2 separate regions of the Homo sapiens genome follow, and region 1 is linked to region 2. The links are contacts of gene promoters, found by promoter capture Hi-C in blood cells and fetal thymus (Javierre and others, 2016). All regions are on one chromosome and are shown on one strand. Each heading gives the region's core, a stretch centred on a gene start or on the middle of the fragment in contact. The rest is flanking DNA. Distances are from core to core; before and after follow the strand shown.

Region 1 (6,851 bases), core at 4,318-6,817, 260 kb after region 2:
CGCATCAAACCCAGCTTCTTTCTCTGACCTGTCACCAAAAGTGGCATCTAATCTAGCAAATAGCCTTATTCTTTGTGGGAGGTTACACGTGTTGAAGAAAAGAAGTGATAACACTGTCTGCAGTGATGCAATAATAAAAATGCTTTGTATTTACAGCAGGCTTCTCCTCAAGGATTTTATAGGCAGTTTCCTCAATCTACAAATAGAAAAACAAGAACCAGCAACTTGTTCACCATCACCCACCAAGAAAAAAACTGACGTATTAACTTCTATACTGTATCTATATGCATATTTGGACAACATGAGACTAAAATGTTTTCTTAGGTGCTTCCACTGCAGTCTGACTTTGTAGCTCTCAGTGATAGAGTCTCCCTCATGAGTGGGACTGGACAGCTGTTTTTCACAAGGCATAGTTGTTGGATCTGCCAAGAGAATGCAACTGCGATTGAATCAGCAAGGGAAGGGCAGGGACCTGATGCTATTAGCTTTGCTGGAAGCTTTCCCAGTAGGTCAGGGTCCCAACCATTTCTCCTCCTGGGAGCAGGCACAGCTTTGATTCTTCAGCGCCTCTGTGAGACCCCAGAACGCGCTCTGCTGCCACAGAGCCCATTAGCTCACCTATAAAGAAGGCTGACCCTCACTCAGTGTAGGAAACTCACCATCAGGATGAGCCAAACAAAGGAATAAATATGTCCCCTCTGGGCCCTGACATAATGAGGAAGCTTAATCCTCAGCTTGGTAAATGCCACAGCCACAACCGTGACCAGCTCAATCTTCAAGGCAGATCAAAGGACTTTCAGGAATGGTTCTGAACAAGTCCCAGCTGGAGGGCCAAGAGGTTTCGTGAAAGACTGACTTTTCTATATAGCAGTTATAAAAATTATCTTCCTCGGCGTCATGTCTTTCATTTTACTCTACTTTATGGTTTCACAAAGCATTCCCACATACATGATCACATATACTTTTCACAAACATTTTGTGCATTTGATCACTTGTCCATAGCTGAGGCTTGGAGAGAACATGATTACGGAAGGTAATCACTGAAGTGGCTCAGGGGATTGTGGAGCTGTGGACTGAATATTCTAGCTAGCCCCTTGAGTGTCAGGGGTGGGACAGGACCAGGGTAGCAAAGCCTCATACATCCTTTTACTCTGATGCAGTCTATTTCCACAAATAGAATCTGAATCATAGACTCCTCAACTCCGAGATGCCTGATTAAATATAGGCTGCTCTCTCCATGGACATCAGCCATCTGTGGCTGGGCTCACTGTGTCCTTCCAAGGGATCCCTACCTTCACTCTGCTGCCCATTCTCCTGGAGCACAGGCTGGATGCACTAAGTCAGCAGGGAGAGTCCTGGAAGGCAACCCATTTCTGAAATTATTATGGCTTTCCTTTAAGAGCCAGTAAATCCCCACTAAATTAGTCTTCACTGAGCAAAATTTGAGAAAAGCACAAAATGCTGAATAACCATTGAAAATGCCACTGTTATTTTGCAAAAAGTCTCCCAGCTTCACTCCCATTCTCAAACTGCCCACACTGTATTTAATTCTTCCTGATGCTTGCTTTATGTTCACCCCAATACATCCTAAATCAATTAACAGCAATTAGTTTGATTATGAAACTATAAAACCAGATATAAAAAGCTCCCATAAATCTTCCAGTAAAGCACCCAACAAAACAAAATCTGGCTAACAGCTAAATTAAGAGTTTTTGTTGTCGTTGTTGTTATTATGTAGCTCTCGCTTCAGCCTAATAAGGTTTGTTAGAAAATGTTCACTGGAACACAGGTGATTAGCAAGCGGATCTCAAAGGTTTCTGGACAGGGAAGAACCAGCAGAATGCTTTTCTCCCCGTAGTCCATTGAGTTTTCTTTAGTTTTCCAGAGGGCTTAATACCTTCTTTTGTTTTAGGTTATGATGATAACCTACTCACAATGCAAGGTAATTTGTTCTTCAGTGGGGATTATTTTTGGTCAACTACGTCAAGTCTGGTTGAGGAAATTATCATGGTTCCACATTATGAGGAAGAAGTTGCAAGGGACCACTTTTTTGGTGAAAAGAGGACCAAAAAACATAGATCCTCTACATATTACCAGATAAATGTCCAAAAGGAGTTTCCAAAATGTTTGCTTAAAAAATGCCATTTGGTACAAAAAATTAGCCAGGCGTGGTTGTGGGCACCTGTAATCCCAGCTACTCGGGAGGCTGAGGTGGGAGAATTGCTTGAACCCGGGAAGCAGAGGTTGCAGTGAGCCATGATCCCGCCACTGCACTCCAGCCTGGGTGACAGTGAGGGGCTTTGTCTCAAAAAAAAAAAAAAATGCCATTTGGCTGAGTGTGGTGGCTCATGCCTGTAATCCCCGCACTTTAGGAGGCTGAGGTAGAACAGCCACTTGAGTCCAGGAGTTTGAGACCAGCCTGGGCAACACAGAAAGACCCTGTCTCTACAATTTTTTTTTTAAAGTTAAGTGGGCATGGTAGTCTGTGCCTACAGACTGCTTGAGAGGCTGAGGCAGGAGGATCACTGGAGCCCAGAAGTTTGAGGTTACAGTGAACTATGATAGAGCCACTGCATTCCAGTGTGGGCAACAGAGCAAGATCCTGTCTTTAAAAAAATTAAAAAAAATATTACCGAGGTGTGGTAGTGCACACCTGTAGTCACAGCTACTGGGGAGGCTGAGGCAGGAGGATTGCTTAAGCCCAGGAGTTCAAGGTTTCAGTGAGCCATGAATGTGCCACTGCACTCCAGTCTGGGTGGCAGAGGGAGACCTTGTTTCTTTAAAAATAAATAAATAAATAAATAAATAAATAGCCGAGCATGGTGGCTCACACCTGTAATCCAGCACTTCAGGAGGCTGAGGCAGGAGGATGGCTTGAGTCCAGGAGTTCAAAACCAGCCTGGGCAACATGGTGAAACCCCATCTCTATGAAAAACGATGACAATTAGTCAAGCATGGTGGCAGGCACCTGTAGTCCAGCTACTTGAGAGGCTGAGGCAGGAGGATCACCTGAGCCCAGGACGGTTGAGGCTGCCATGATCATGAGTGAGCTGTGATCACGCCACTACACTCTAGACTGGGTGACAGAGTGAGACCCTGTCTCAGTAATAATGATAATAAATAAATAAATAAAAATAATACAATAAAATATTCCATTACTAAAAAATCAAAACAACAACAGAAAGAATGTCAAAGTATATCACTGGATAGCCATCACATTTAATAGTTTAGGCTGGGCACAGTCACTTACACCTGTTATCGCAGCACTTTGGGAGGCTGAGGTGAGTGGATTGCTTGAGCTCAAGAGTTCAAGACCAGCCTGGGAAATAAAGTGAGACCACGTCTCTATAAAAATTACAAAAATTAGCCAGGTGTGGTGGCTGTGGTCCCAGCTTCTAGGGAGGCTGAGGTGGGAGGATGGCTTGAGCTTGGGAGGAAGAGGTTGCAGTGAGCTGAGATCAAGCCACTGCACTTTGGCCTGGGCAACAGAGCCAGGCCCTGTCTCAAAAAAAACAAAACCAAAAAAAAAAAAAAAAAATTAAAGGTGTAGCCAAGGAGTATTTATGGTCATGTGACACTTTAGCACCAGAAAGGTCCCCCCCACCCAGGAAAGATCCACACAGGATATATTATCTGTCAGCTTCTAAAGGAACTTATGATTTTTTTTGGCATAACTGGTAATAACAGCCATACAGTTTCAGGCAGTCACTGAAACATAGCAAAACACCAAAGCAACAATTAAGAAGGAAAAGACACAGCATGTTTACAATATCTGAATTTAAAAGTGCTCTTTTCTTGGTGGTCTCTGGACTTCCTCCTACTTCCCTGAAGTTTCAGGGGAGAGAAGTAGCCAACCCTTAACATGGCATAAAAAAAAGCTCACTTGTGTAAGTTCGCTCAGTAACTGGAAGAAGGATGAATCTGCTTGGATTGATGGGCAAACGGATCTTGTTCTCAGGAAAGGAGGCAGAACTGACATTAGATATAGATAGTATCCCTCTAGGTTTTTCCTGTGTATGCCAGTTCTAATCTTCTTTCTTTAGGAACTTAGTATAGCACACTTGGTTAAGGTCATAGTGTAACATATTTGTTTTGCATTTTGTTTTCATTCACTCATTCCATGAAATTTATTGAGCGCCTACTAAATGCACAGTGCCATGTGCATAGGCGTTTATTTAATTACATCTTGCATCATTTGGCAGATTGATTCCATAATCACAGATTAGTTGGCTGGGATTCTGATTCTAATTTTGCCCACAATTTGCCGTGTGGCTGTGAGTTAGGCACCCTACCTCTGTGAGATACCTCAATTTCTTTCTCTGCATGGTGGAAATTAGAGTAACTGACAGCTGCTTAGAGATGTGTTGGAATGATTCATGTTCAAGTCAAGGTAAGGCTTGCGAAGTTCAATGATTTCATCCTCAAAAATGCCACTTTGAGATTCATGGAAGTAAAGATTCGTTTGTTTTTTTTTTAAATTTATATTGCAATAGTTACAAGTTTCTCGACTATTTTATTTATTTCTTTGTTACTGTTTTCTGATTTAATGACTGCTAGCTGGATTCCAGGGTTTCAATATCAAAGCCATTAACCTGGATCGATTGGCCAAACTTGAGGTCTTCTCTGAGAGATTTTCCGTGGCAATGTAGAGGTAAGAATTTGTATATGCCCAAAAGGTGGATGAGCACAAATTTGAGTAAGATTTGTAAGGAAACTGAATTTGAGCCTGAGCTTGAATTTGGCTTCCCAGCTTCAGTACTTGTTATGTAGTATCAGGATCATTTTATTTTTATTTGTGTAGTAGTTAACTTGCTTTGTTCTGATAGCAAACAACTGCCTCTTAATCTCAGACATCACCTTTACTCATGTACTGTGAACTGGCAAGAAATACACTAATGTATTTACCATGAAATTGGCAAATATCACCCCTAAAGGTACCTATATCTTCATGATTTCAAAATAGCCAGTTTTTTTTTTTAAGTTATTAGGTATGATAAATGTCTAACTCTCAACACCTCTGGGGCTGAGCCTGGACGGGGCAGGGCTGAGGCATGTCAGTAAAACCTTAGGTGGCTGTGAGAGAAGTCAGAGTGGGGAAGTCTTGAGGCTAATCTAGAAGTCAGTTATCTTGAGGTCACAAAGACCCCAGATCACAGGGGAAGAGACAGACTGTAAGCTTGAAGATGATAACTTGTGAAAGCCGGAAATCCTAAGCCACTTTAGCAATTCCTTTTCCTCACCATGGGACTTTCTCCAAGCCTCAGCTATGGACAGTGGTCAAATGCAAAGAATTATTGCGAGGAAGAGAATTTTCATAATTGTTGTATAGAAAAGTCGGTCTTTCACAAAACTGCTTGGCCCTCCAGCTGGGACTTGTTCAGAACCATCCCTGAAAGTCATTTGATCTGCCTTGAAGATTCAGCTGGTCATGGTTGTGGCTGTGGCATTTACCAAGCTGAGGATTAAGCTTCCCCATTATGTCAGGGCCCAGAGGGGATATATTTATTCCTTTGTTTGGCTCATTCTGATGGTGAGTTGCTATACTGAGTGAGGGTCAGCCTTTTTTGGGGGTAAGCTAATGGGCTGTGTGGCAGCAGAGCGCATTCTGGGGCCTCACAGAAGACTGCAGAGGGGAAGGTGAGAGGAAGGAGGTGCATTTGAAGCTTTGGCCACGGAGGACTTTTTAGTTCACAGTAAGTATTTTGAATGTTTTTCTTGTCATTTGGAACCCATTAGAGGGTTTAATTAGGGGAGCAATGTGACACAGAGTGGGTAGATGTGGAAGAGAGACCAGTTTGGCAGATGTTGCACTAATATCTGGAAGGAATATAGCAGTTTGCATCAGATGCTAACAATGGAGATGGTGAGAAGTAGCTACATCTGGGATATAGTTTGAAGTTTGAGTCAATCATATTTACCAATGGATTAAATGTAGTGGATGTGTGCTGGGGGGAAGAGGACATTAAGAATGACTTTAAGGGTTTTGGTTTGAGTACTCACGCCATCTACTGATGGGGAAAGTGTTGGAAGGAGCATGTTTGGAGGAGGAGGGAAGCCAAGAGTTTAGTTTGGGACCTATTAAGTTGCAGAAGGTCATTTACATATTCAAGTAGAGATGTCAAGTGGGCAAGCAGATAAATAAGTCTATTGAGCAGAGGAGCATTTGGAGCTCTATATATGAATATGGGAAGTATAAACACATAGATGATTTAGGCCTATCGTACTAGGTGAGACTACTTTGGCATGATTACAGCAAGAAGAGAAGAGGCCTGAGGAGTGAGGCTAAAGGCCTGAAGCCTATTAACCATTAGGACTCAGGAAGAGGAGGAGGAGGTAGGAAAAGAGACTGAAAAAGTAGTCTGTGATGTAAGAAGCAAAGCAGAAAATATGGGGTGGTAGAAACTAAGTGAAAAAATTTTTTCATAAAACATGATATGCTGACCTATGTCCATTGCTACTGATAGGTAAAATAAAGTGAGGCTGGGAATTGACCAATGGATTTGAAACATGGAGGCCAATGGAGATCTGTGAGGGTTAATTTTATGTGTCAACTTGACTGGCTTAAGGGCTACCCAGACGGCTGGTACAGCATTATTTCTCAATGTGTCTGTGAGGTTGTTTCCAGAAGAGACTGGCACTTGAAACAGTGAACTAAGTAAGGAAGACCCGCTCTCACCCAGTGTGGGTGGACACTGTATAATGCGCTGAAGGCCCAGATAGAACAAAAAGACAGAGGAAAGGCAAATTCTTTTCTGGAACTGGGACACACTTTTTCTCCTCCCCTTTCATATCGGAACTCCAGATTCTTTGGTCTTTGGACTGTGGGACATGCACCAGTGGCCCTCCAGGTT
Region 2 (6,152 bases), core at 2,503-5,002:
GGATTACAGGTGTGAGCCACTGCACCTGGTCTATTATGTCTTAAAGCAAACCAAACAGACATGGTATTTGTTTCTACACCACACCATCAAAAATTACAGTTGTGCAAACACTTTTTTTTAATGCTGAATTTGACTTCACTTTTTGGGACAGGAGATATGGAAGTGAAACAAAAGTTACCCAGTTTTTGATCTGTTTGGTAATGAATAGCACTGAGTTGCTGTTGTAAGACCTTGGTCTTAATGTTCAGCATCACCCAGCAGGAGATATCCTCCAGTTCCAGGCTCTGTTCCCAATTTGCCAACCAGAATTATGGGGCCACCTCCCTACCTTCATATGTAACCAAAATAACAGGTGGGCTCAGAAAAACTGAGAGGAAAGGCATTTTGAAGGTTTCCAATGAAAGAAGCATCTAACACTTGTATCAAGGTTGTCAAAGGTATATATAATGTATACTTCTTTTTCCTGCAAAAAACCAGAAGGTTATGGAGTCATTTCAGCCTAAAGTAAACTAGCTAATTTTAAGATTCTGCAAACCAATGTGAATTATGTTCACATAGTTCTCTTTCCTCTTCTAGAGGGAATCCCAGGGAACTGACGTTGGTATAGACTAAGAGATTTCTGCTTTAGGTAAACATTCAAACAATGCTGCTGATTGCAAAACTGAGGACAGGATGGCAACAACAGGTTGGAGATCAGACAGGTAGTTATCCAGCCTTTAAGTGACAGGGATGTAAATAATTATGAACAGAATAAAAAGCAGAGATTTTCTTAATTCCGCCCTCCTTTGTTTGCTACTACTGTAGTCCTGTGACAGTGGCAGGACCCTAGACTTTTGAAATACCATAGTCAGTGATTACATCCTGTGAGAAAATGCTCAGAGTTTAGCTTTATGGTCAGAGTCTCTGGAATGCAGCCTTGCTGTTCATCTCTCGACCCTTAAAACCTCCTGAGATTTTGTTGTTGTTGTTTGAGGCAGGGTCTCACTCTGTAGCCCAGGGTGGAGTGCAGTGGCCAGATCTTGGCTCACTGCAGCCTCCGCCTCCCGGGTTCAAGCGATTCTCCCACCTCAGCCTCCCAGGTGGCTGTGACTACAGGTGCGTGCCACCATGCCTGGCTAGTTTTTGTATTTTTAGTACAGACGGAGTTTTGCCATATTGGCCAGGCTGGTCTTGAACTCCTGGCCTCAACTGATCCTCCCAAAGTGCTGGGATTACAGGCATGAGCCACCATGCCCAGTCCCTCCTGAGATTATTTCAAAGATGCTAAGGTGAATTTCAAGGTGTGGTTTTCCGAAACTATTATTCTGTTGACGGCCAAGCATTTATTCAGTTCATATGTAGGGAGAAGAAAAAAAGCTTCCATTACTTGTACCTCCATCTTCTGGATGGCAGCCCCCCGCCCCCCCACACCTCCTCTCTCTCTCTCTCTCTCTCTCTCTCTCTCTCTCTCCTCCCACCACACACACACACACACACACACACACACACACACAAATGTAAAACCACAAGATTTACTGCAGAGATTCAATATTAAATTTTAGCCCAGCCATACATACAATGACAAGCCATATGTACAATGACAAGTATACTAAGCTCACAGATTCATTAACCTCTTGAAATTAAAGAAGGGAAAGTTAATCATTGCACAGAAAAGAAATCTTTTATTGCTCAAGTTAGGCTTAAAACTTTGCACTTCTGTGTTTCCTTTTGGATATGTTCTAAGACTAGAAATTAAAGTCACTAGGAAAAGAAATCCCCCTTGGGGCACAATTCATCCATTTGGAGAATATGCTGATCTTTAAGGGACAAGTATTTCCCTAGAAAAGGCAAAGGGAAGAGAACACTTTAGATGAAAAACAAAGAGGACTCAAAAAGGAAAAAGAGGGGTGGGAATGGCAAAAGAAAAGAGGGAGATAACACTCAAGATATTTGTGGATCAAGAGGTATTATGTGGCCCAGATGTCTCAGCAGTGAGGACATAGCACAGCACCCCTTCCTTCTAAATCACATGCCACAGCCGCCCAGTACCCCTTCCAGAGCAGCTTTTCTGTTCTGCCTTTAGCTGGCCATGCCCTTTACACCTAAGGAACACCCATGTTTCTGGGGATGCGGATTCTCTGCTTCCTAGAAAGAAAGGCAAGAAAGGTACCTGGGAAGGAACCCACGTACAATGAGCTATGATAAATACCTAACAATTTATACCGCGCATTCAATCTAGGATAGGCTGCCTCTTCACTGAAATCTATTAATTATTCATACACTAAATCAAAGACCCATTCCTTGATTGGTTACTATGGGCCAGACAGGTAACGGTCACAGAAATGAAAGACAAAGTGCCTGCCCTAAAGGAAATGATAGTGTCATAGAGAAAAGCTGACAAACCGATTATTAGTATACAGAGATGTGGAGGAAGTTTACTCAACAAATGGCCTCAATTGTGATATCATCACAATTAAGCCTTTTGACATTCATCCTTATTTCCTTACTCCAGTGTAGACTGCCACATATTCAAATATACAAACAGACCCCAATGTATGCCCATGCAGCAGGTGACAAGGGCCAGGTGCTTGTGTTTACCTGTACTTGTTTCAGCACTCACCCCATCCTTACACCATTAAACCGAATAGCCATTTGTAGGGCTTAAACACTTAAAAGCCAGTATTAAGCAGAACCTCAGCTCTGCATCTGGGGACAAAATACCCCGCAAAAGGGATGGGAATCCTGAGAGTGCAGCCAGCATAAATCACGCCAACATCACTGGGCAGACGGTTATAACAAAATGCACTTCCTCCTCCATGAAGAGCAAGGGCTTCGTAGACTGCACCCAAGCCACAAGCTCCACACCAGACCAGAGATGGGCTGGTAGGCAGAGGCAAAGGTGGTTTCAAGGCTTCTGTGGCTTTGAAGAAAACATCTTTGAGTGTGAGAAAGCATTCACATGGTCTCTGCGGGCATCCTTTCCCTGTGGTCGGGCACTCTTCAATCTGTGGCTGTTGATTTCACCACACACTCAACTTGTCCCGCCATAGTCCTCCCTAACGTAGCCCTAAAGACAAAAAGACCACTAAGATCGCCTTGCAAACCTAATCAGAATGTGGCAAGTCTGGGGCAGTGATCTTTCACTCTATGATCTTTGACAGTGGGTCCTAGGGGCAAAAGTCTCAGACTCTTAAAATCTTATCTGGCTCCTTCCGTTAACAGAGAAAAGTAAATATTTAGCCACCAGCACAGAGGTTGAGAGAAAAACAGCTGTAATCAACACTCCACTTCTCACCCCTCCCAGATCAGAGGTGAAGCCTGACACCCCTGACCCCTAAGCGAGCTTCCTCGGTGTAGCGAAGCACAGAGCCCAGCCAGCAATAATTCCACATATAAACAACTCTTGCTAGGCATGAAGCACACACCAGACAGTAATCAGCTTATCTAACAGAACAGGCCTCTTTTCCGAACGCAGAGGAGGATTAGCAGGCTTGAATTACAGCCGTGAAGTGTAATCAAGCCCTGGTGGACCCTGGCAAAGGCTACTGTATATTCCTGCTGGGCCATGGGTTGTTGGCACGATGTGGTGTACCTACAGGGGACGAACAGAAAATGCTTGAGATGGTAATTACACTGGGAGACAGCAGTTGAGAAATGGGGAAGAGCAAGTGTGGAGGGGAGAGAAATCAGATTCCAGCTGATGCCCACGTCCTCCACATCTTCCAGTCTTTGGAAAATCTTGAAGTTACTGGATTTGAACAGATTTTTCTGGCTTATTAAAAATAGAATATTGCCTACATCACATAAAGGGCAAACTCCGCCCTCACTTGGTCACAGAAGCAATTACAGCATTGTCTGTAGTACACAGCCCACGGCCTCTAACCACAGTGATGGGCACACTTGGTGATGTGCAACTCAGTGGGGCCTACAGGGTCCCAGCTGACATAGACATCACAAAGGAATTTGAACCAGGACTCAGAAATAGGTAGACAATTTTAAGAATTGTATCCTCACCTTGAAGATGCTAAAACCAACCAGATGGGGGTTTCCTTTTATACCTCCCAGATGGAGACTTCTCATTTCGAAAACTTGAGAGTCCAGCATTTAATGATATGCCTACAAAAAAGTCTCTACTTAGTGAATTCCATGAAAAAAGGCACTATGACTTTTGAATTTTTTGAAGCTTCCCAAAGAACCCTGTGCCTTGCTGAAAAAGAAAATTGTCTTATGTTAGGTTTATTTTTTTTTTATTCTGTCATTTATTTGTGAAGAACTTTCCTTAACATCCTATTCATAGCACCCCACTATGTAAAACAATTCAACAACTCATTAGCTTTCCCTTAAAGTAATCTTAGCCCCCTCTGAAGTTCCTCATCTATCTTGCCATCTATCCTTTTCTCTTACTCATATTTCTTAAAGATCAAAGAATTCAAAGTGGATATCACGTTAAAAAATTGCCTTCACTAACATGGGGAGTCGTAGAAAAATAGCTTCCTGGCTTTCTTAAGTTCTGGGCCTCTTGAGGCAGATCCACTGCGTTAACACTGCAAACACGCTTCCTTCTCTTCAGTCAAATCTCTCCCCAGCTAACTCTTCTAATACCAGCTTTCCAATGCCTTCCCAACACCCAATCCTTTCCAGTACACTTGGAGAGAGCAGAGACTCCAGGTGACATCATGAATCCCCTCTAGAGATGATCCATGGGTGAAGAGAGAGTCATGGCCCATGCAGTGTGGGGTACGGTTGAGGGCTCTGAAATGTGCCACAGGCCGCTCGTCCTACCAGTCCCAACCTATTCCTCACTAGCTTATCCCTTAAGACACATGTCCCCAAAACCACTCTCCACATTTAATCACAGCATAGAAGCCTGAAAGCAGTGATCTTTCACGCCATAGTCTTTGACAGGGAACTCTTAAGGCCAAAACTGCCAGACTCTCAAACAACTGATAAGTGCATAAACCTAATTTTCAAAACAATTTAATTGACTACAGTCTGATTGCTGGTACACATGAAGATATACCGTGTGTCAGCAGTGTTTGAAATAGGAATGCTGAGCTGAGTGTGAGTGGGTCACTCAATTCAGTCTATCAGGTTACGATCTGACAGTGGAAGGCAAGAGACAGCATATCAAGAAAAACTCTGTGTGTGTGTGTGTGTGTGTGTGTGTGTGCGCGTGTTACCTATATGCAAGAGCTGGAAAATAGAAAAGAGCTCTGATGAGTGACATGGAGCTGAAGATCCTTTGCGAGAACTTTAAATTCATTCCAAAATGCAACCAAAATAATTACAGTATTCAAAATTGTGCCACCAGTACAGAGGGCTGAGAACAACTGCTCTTAGTGGGACAAAGCCACAAAATGCAAGAAGGAACCAAAATCTACCAAGAATTACCTTGGAGATGAGTTAAGCTGATCTGGCCTTATGATAGTTCTGATAGCCAAGGAACAGGTCAGGGCTGGAGCCCAGAACTGGATATGGTCATATCTGAGAAATCAGACACTCAAGAGTAGGAGTCACCTCTCTGGGTCTGAGTCAGCAGGCACCTCCCGCCTCTGACAGGCCTAACCACTTATCATGAGCCAGGCATGCACTCAGGGTAGCCTAAATGCTAAGTACTGCCAGCAATGCTCAGACTCTTAGCCAGCCGTGGAGGTCTTCTCTGGGGCCACCCAACTATCCTTTCAGACCTCATTCTGATATCTCTGCCTGAAAAAGCACGCGGGGCAGCAATAGTCCCCAATCACTGTCCCTTTTAAGGTGTAAGGAGGACAGGGCAGGGGAGTGGGCTGTCCTAGTCCCTTTCAGGGGCTATACTCCAAGCCACAAGTCTGGTTTCTATTACAATTTTCCAAATTGATATGTGATCCTGGTGACAACAGTCACTCTCTGCACTGGAGTGTGTTAGCACCATCTGTAAAATGGGCCACTTGCCTTTCTTTTTCCAGACCAGTTGTGAGTTTTATAAACATACTCGTGGCAAAGCCCTCTCAAATTTATTTTCCTATGTGATATCTGATATGGCCCCATCAAACAAGCACACTTTTAGAGTGGCTTGTCAGAGTTGGTAAACGGTGTTGCACCTTTGGCTAGGATTTAAAATGCCTGAAAGGGGTTTAAACCACATGTTCTTTTAAAGATAGAGAAAATTTCACTGCTGTACCCCAAGATCTAAC

The links. The method cuts DNA at HindIII sites, captures the fragments that hold promoters and counts their contacts. A CHiCAGO score of 5 or more calls a contact.
Region 1: a fragment that was not itself captured here is called in contact with the fragment with the promoter of PBX1-AS1 in region 2 in 1 of 17 cell types (megakaryocytes); the score reaches 5.4 in megakaryocytes.

The regions. Positions count from the first base shown.
Region 1 is chr1:164,509,780-164,516,630 of GRCh38, reverse strand. No RefSeq gene overlaps it. Among named protein-coding and RNA genes, the nearest start is that of PBX1, 46 kb to the left of the region's middle. The HindIII fragment of the contact is 196 bases long and covers 5,470-5,665 here.
Region 2 is chr1:164,772,241-164,778,392 of GRCh38, reverse strand. PBX1-AS1 (PBX1 antisense RNA 1) reads left to right here and starts at 3,752. Exons shown (of 4, transcript NR_038072.1): 1 at 3,752-3,964. The region is part of intron 2 of PBX1 (PBX homeobox 1); the gene reads right to left. The HindIII fragment of the contact is 2,806 bases long and covers 1,359-4,164 here.